Regions from separate parts of the Homo sapiens genome. Here region 1 is linked to region 2. Evidence: promoter capture Hi-C in human tissues and cell types (Jung and others, 2019). All regions are on one chromosome and are shown on one strand. Each heading gives the region's core, a stretch centred on a gene start or on the middle of the fragment in contact. The rest is flanking DNA. Distances are from core to core; before and after follow the strand shown. Region 1 has its middle 9.8 kb from the start of SLC29A2. Region 2 holds the start of PELI3 (pellino E3 ubiquitin protein ligase family member 3).

Region 1 (2,700 bases), core at 9-2,508, 85 kb before region 2:
TATATAGTTAGCTGTAGTTTTTTTGTGGATGCTCTTCATCAAGTTGCTTTCTAACCCACAAAATGTCTATTTCCCATGATTCAACCTAATAACAACGTGGGAAAACATTCATTGATTTGTAGTATTTTGTGAACATTCTTGATGGCCAAGTATTGTCGATGAACAATGCAGTAACTTGCTGAGTGGGCGGGTCACGAGGTGAGGAGATCAAGACAATCCTGGCCAACATGGTGATACCCCGTCTCTACTAAAAATACAAAAGTTAGCCAGGCGTGGCAGCACATACGTGCCTGTAATCCCAGCTACTCAGGAAGCTGAGGCAGGAGAATTGCTTGAACCTGGGAGGGGGAGGTTGCAGTGAGCAGAGATTGCACCACTGCACTCCAGCCTGGCTACAGAGCTAGACTCTGTCTCAAAAAATAATAATAATAATAATAGAAATAAAAACCAAACAAGCAAAAACAAGACAAAATAAAAACCAACCCTCTTTGCCACTGCTGGAAGCGGTTGGCTGCATCACACCAACTCTTAACTCTGAACATTGGTAATTTAAGAGGAAACTATTCAGCATGTATGGGAAGTAATTAGGGTTGAAATATCATGATACTTGGTTTTTACTTTATATATTATATGTACTTTATATGTAATTATGTATTATTATGTTTTTTCATATAGATGGAAAAATGTTGCAAAATATCAACAATTGCCACCTAGGTTGTGGGTTTACGAGTGTTCATTGTGCTATTCTATCTTTCTGTGGATTCAAAGCTTTCTATGAAAAAAAGTTTAAAAAGTAAGAATTTCTCTTACTTTTCCTATTTAACCATTCGTCAGAAAGTGTTTTTTTTTTGTTTTTTGTTTTTGTTTTTTTTTTGAAACTTAGTCTCGCTCTGTCTCCCAGGCTGGAGTGCAACGGCGCGATCTGGGCTCACTGCAAGCTCCGCCTCCCGGGTTGACGCCATTCTCCTGCCTCAGCCTCCCGAGAAGCTGGGACTACAGGCGCCCGCCACCACCAGGCGCCCGGCTAATATTCTGTATTTTGTTTAGTAGAGACGGGGTTTCACCGTGTTAGCCAGGATGGTCTCAATTTCCTGACCTCGTGATCCACCTGCCTTGGCCTCCCAAAGTGCTGGAAAGAAAGATGTTTTTATATGTTCCCTAGCATTTTTTTTGAGATGGAGTTTTGCTCTTGTTGCCCAGGCTGGAGTGCAATGCTGTGATCTCAGCTCACCACAACCTCCACCTCCTGGGTTCAAGCGATTCTCCTGCCTCAGTCTCCCAGGTAGCTGGAGTTACAGGCATGCGCCACCACGCCCAGCTAATTTTGTATTTTTAGTAGAGACGGGGTTTCTCCATGTTGGTCAGGCTGGTCTCAAACTCCCGACCTCAGGTGATCTGCCCACCTCGGCCTCCCAAAGTACTGGGATTACAGGCGTGAGCCACCGTGCCTGGCCTTCTCCGGCATTTTAGTTGCACTATACCGGGAGCAGTTTCTCTGAATCATATTGCCTGACTCCTTAAACTTGTTTTTGTTTAATAACGTTGTTCATTGTATAGCTAAACCATAATGTTTTAAAGTAGTCCCCTATTGGCTGGGTGTAGTGGCTCACGCCTGTAATTCCAGTACTTTGGGAGGCCAAGATGGGAGGATCTCTTGAGACCAGGAGTTCGAGACCAGTCTGGTCAACATAGTGTGACCTCATCTCTTAAAAAAAAGAAAAAATGGCCGGGCGCGGTGGCTCATGCCTGTAATCCCAGCACTTTGGGAGGTCGAGGCGGGCGGATCACGAGGTCAGGAGATCGAGACCATCCTGGCTAACATGGTGAAATCCCGTCTCTACTAAAAATACAAAAAAAATTAGCAGGGCGTGGTGACTGGGGCCTGTAGTCCCAGCTACTTGGGCGGCTGAGGCAGGAGAATGGCGGGAACCCAGGAGGCGGAGCTTGCAGTGAGCCGAGATCACGCCACTGCACTCCAGCCTGGGTGACAGAGCGAGACTACGTCTTAAAAAAAGAAAAGAAAAAAAAAAGAAAAGAAAAGAAAAAAGAAAAAAGGCTGAGAGGCTGAGGCAGGAGAATCGCTTGAACCCGGGAGGTGGAGACTGCAGTGACTCGAGATTGCGCCACTGCACTCCAGCCTGGGCAACAAGAGCGAGACTCCATCTCAAAAAAAAAAAAAAAAAAGTAGTCCCCTATCGATGGACATTTACGTTAGATTGTTTCCAATCTAGAAAAAAGTACAAAAAGAAAAAAAAGCATAAAATAAACAAGAAACAAAAACAAACACAAAAATAAAATAGATGATTTCCATTCATCTGTTATTATAAATAATGGTGCAATGAATAACATTTGGGAGTTTATCTGTAGGTGAAATTCCTAGAAGTGGAAATGCTTTCGAGGATATATACAGCTAAATTTTTTTTACACCTGTAATTTTAATAGATGCTGCTAAATTGCTCTCCACAGAGATTGCACCAGTTCACAGTTCCACCAGCTATATATGTTGGTGCCTGTTATCCAGCCAGCAGGATGTTGTTAAATGTTTTGTTCTTTTTTTTTTTTTTTTTGAGACAGAGTTTTGCTCTTGTTGCCCAGGCTGGAGTGCAATGGCGCGATCTTGGCTCACTACAACCTCTGCCTCCCGGGTTCAAGCAACTCTGCCTCCCGGGTTCAAGCAACTCTGCCTCAGCCTCCTGAATA
Region 2 (2,825 bases), core at 160-2,659:
CTGTGACTAACGAGTGTCTTTTCCCCTAAAGGATGTGCCGTCGGCTGCTTTCTTGTTTCATCTAGCCGCTGGGCCCCAGAACAGTTGGCAAAGCAGTTGGTATCTTTGGCTATTTTTAGGTGGAGGAGTTAGCGGGGTGGATATAGTAGGGCCCCAGGGGAGTCTGGTAGATGGGGAACTTCAGGTGCAACAAGTTTGTGGGGGTGGGAGTGGCAGCGGCTCCCTCTCAGGAATGTTTAGGCAAACTAAACATGCATCCTTCATAATGGAAGTCAAAAGCCACCTCCTCTGTGCAGTCTTCCTTGATTTTCTCATTAAACACCCCCACCGCCCCCCACAAGACCAAAGACTTGATCTGGAACTATAATCCAGCCTTTATAGTTCCAGACCAAGAGTACTGAGCAATAGGGACCTTACCTGATGCAGACAAGGTTTCTCTTCTGCACCTCTGAGGCTCCATCCCTAGTCAGAACGACAAGGTACGAAGTTAGGAGTTGAGACTGAAGCCACTCATACAGCTGAGATTCTCTCTTGGCCCGTTTCTAGCAAACTACAACAAGCAAGTCACTTTTGTAAATCTATTTCCTCATCTGTAAAATGGGCAACTATCGTGCCTGCCTCCCAGGATTAAAGTAAAGGGTTTAATTTGCTCAAAGCACAGCGCACAGCGCCTAACGTAGACTGATAGATCTCTCGCAAGCCCCAGGCCCAGAAGGGGCGGTGCTCCCCCAAAACTCTCTTTCCTTTGCAGCACAGCGGGGGGTGTGTGCATCCTGGCGGAGGGGAGGGGACTGAGGGGAGGGGAATGGGGGGTGCCCGAGCTGGGCTGGAAGACAGGTCTGCGACTCTGGTCAACTGCAGCTGCTTTCCCCGGCCTCCACCGCTGCCGCACACCCCCTTTGCCTTTAGCATTTTCCTCCTCTCCTCTAATTGCGTGGCGTCCCCAGATGGTAGGCGGGGTGTCGGAGCTGGGGGTGCGTAGTCCCGGGCCTAAGGCTAGGGAAGGGGCCTCCAGCGCCGTGTGAGGGCCCTGACCGACAGTGGGGAGGGGCGCCCATGTCTCTGGGAGAACCCCGGAGTCCCCGGAAATGGAGGCGGAGTTTGGGGAGTCTGAAATGGGGGAGGGGTCGTGTAGACTACGGGGGAGTCCTGAGCCGGCTAGGAGGGGCAAGGGAGTCCCTCAGACGGAGTGGAGAGCGGGGCTTCCCTGGTCAGAGGGCGGTACCAGGGGAAGGGCGTGGTCTCCTGCGAAGGGGCGGAGCTCCGCCTACGAAGGCTGAGCATCGCCGCAAGAGGCGGAGTCTGGAGCGAGGCGGAGCTCTCCTAGGGGCGGGGAAAATGGGGCGGGGCCTCCGGACAGGGGGCGGAGCGTGGCTGTTCGCGCTCATCCCCCTCCCCCGGCCCTGGGTGTCCCCGTGACGAGGCAGCGCGGAGCCGCCGCGGGCCGGGCCCATCCCGCCGCAGCGGCCCGGGGCCGAGCAGGGGCTAGGCGGGGAGGGAGCGGCGCCCAGCGGGGCCCGGAGCGTGGCCAGGTGAGGCCGCCGGGGCGGAGGGGGCGGGGGCTGCGCCAGGCGGGCCCCGGCGGGCGCGGGGGGCGTGTTTGCGTGTCTGGGGGTGGTGGAGGGAGTGGGTCCGAGGGCGGGCGCCGGTGGCTGCTGCGCGCCCGCGCGTCCCTGCGGTCGCGGGTGCGGGTGGTCTCTGCGCCGTCCGGGCCCGGGGCGTGCGGGGCCGTGCACGCGCGCGTGTTGTGCGGAGGGGCCGCCGGGTGTGGACCTGCGTAGGTGCTGGGCCGCGGTTCCCGTTCTGCCCGCCCGGGGCGCAGGGCGCGGGCCTGCCCCGGCGCGGTCCCTCTGGCGCGGGGATGTTTTCCAAACGGGCTGCCTGCGGGAGACGGCTGTGCTGCAGCCCGAGCTCGAGGGGGGAGCGCCGCCTCCGCAGGCCTCCTGAGACCCGGGCGGCTGGGGACGCAGACAGACACCTGAGGGAGGGAAGAGCGCGCACCCAGGAGGAGTCTATTGGCCTACCCGCAGGGGGAGGCCGAGATGGGGAGACTGAGGCAGATGGTGAGGCGGAGGCGGGCAGACAGGCAGAGATGGGGAATGGGGGGAGAGAGACGGCAAAAAGGACAGCGGCTGGGAGGACAGAGAGTCATTGAGAAAGCAGATGGACAGACAGAGGCCTAGACCTCAAAGGGGCAAGAAAGATTCAGATGGACAGGTAGATTCAAAGAACCTGTCAGAGAGGCTAAATCAGAGGTCCAGAGGCTAAGAGCTATAAGCAGGAACTGAGTCTGAGATGAGGGGTAACGGCCCCCAACTCATTGGGTGCCCCGCTTTGAAGCACATCCCAGACTGGGATCTTGGCCAAAAAGCAGCCTCTGGCCACCCCAAGTTGGTCCATCTCTTTGGCACCACTGAATATCCTGACTCTCTTCACTGTGCCACCCCTCCCTGGTATCCCAGCAACCTCGGGCAGTTTAGAGGAGGCAGAGGGGAAGTGGTTGCCATAGCAGTAGAGGCGGTGAAAGGTCACCCTTGCCTTAGCCTAGGCGGCCCTGCAGCAGGCTGCAGCTGGAATTGAGCCGGGCTGGGGTGGGAACCTACAAAGCTCTTTTCTCTCCCACTCTGCCCAGAATGGTGCTGGAAGGAAACCCTGAAGTGGGGTCCCCCCGAACCTCAGACCTCCAGCACCGGGGGAACAAGGGCTCTTGCGTTCTCTCCTCTCCCGGTGAAGATGCGCAGCCAGGCGAGGAGCCCATCAAGTATGGTGAACTCATCGTCCTGGGGTGAGCATCCCTGGCCTAGAAGGGGTGAAGCACCAGACAC

Evidence for each region. The method cuts DNA at HindIII sites, captures the fragments that hold promoters and counts their contacts. A contact is called where the count stands out against the background at its distance.
Region 1: a fragment that was not itself captured here is called in contact with the fragment with the promoter of PELI3 in region 2 in 2 of the 25 tissues and cell types used here (dorsolateral prefrontal cortex and lymphoblastoid cells).

The regions. Positions count from the first base shown.
Region 1 is chr11:66,380,220-66,382,919 of GRCh38, forward strand. No RefSeq gene overlaps it. Among named protein-coding and RNA genes, the nearest start is that of SLC29A2, 9.8 kb to the left of the region's middle. RefSeq lists an enhancer at 2,334-2,700. The HindIII fragment of the contact is 5,232 bases long and covers 1-2,700 here.
Region 2 is chr11:66,465,496-66,468,320 of GRCh38, forward strand. It overlaps PELI3 (pellino E3 ubiquitin protein ligase family member 3), which reads left to right and starts at 1,410. Exons shown (of 8, transcript NM_145065.3): 1 at 1,410-1,532; 2 at 2,633-2,785. The coding sequence starts at 2,634. RefSeq lists an enhancer at 1-376 and silencers at 1,328-1,537, 1,548-1,897. The HindIII fragment of the contact is 25,810 bases long and covers 1-2,825 here.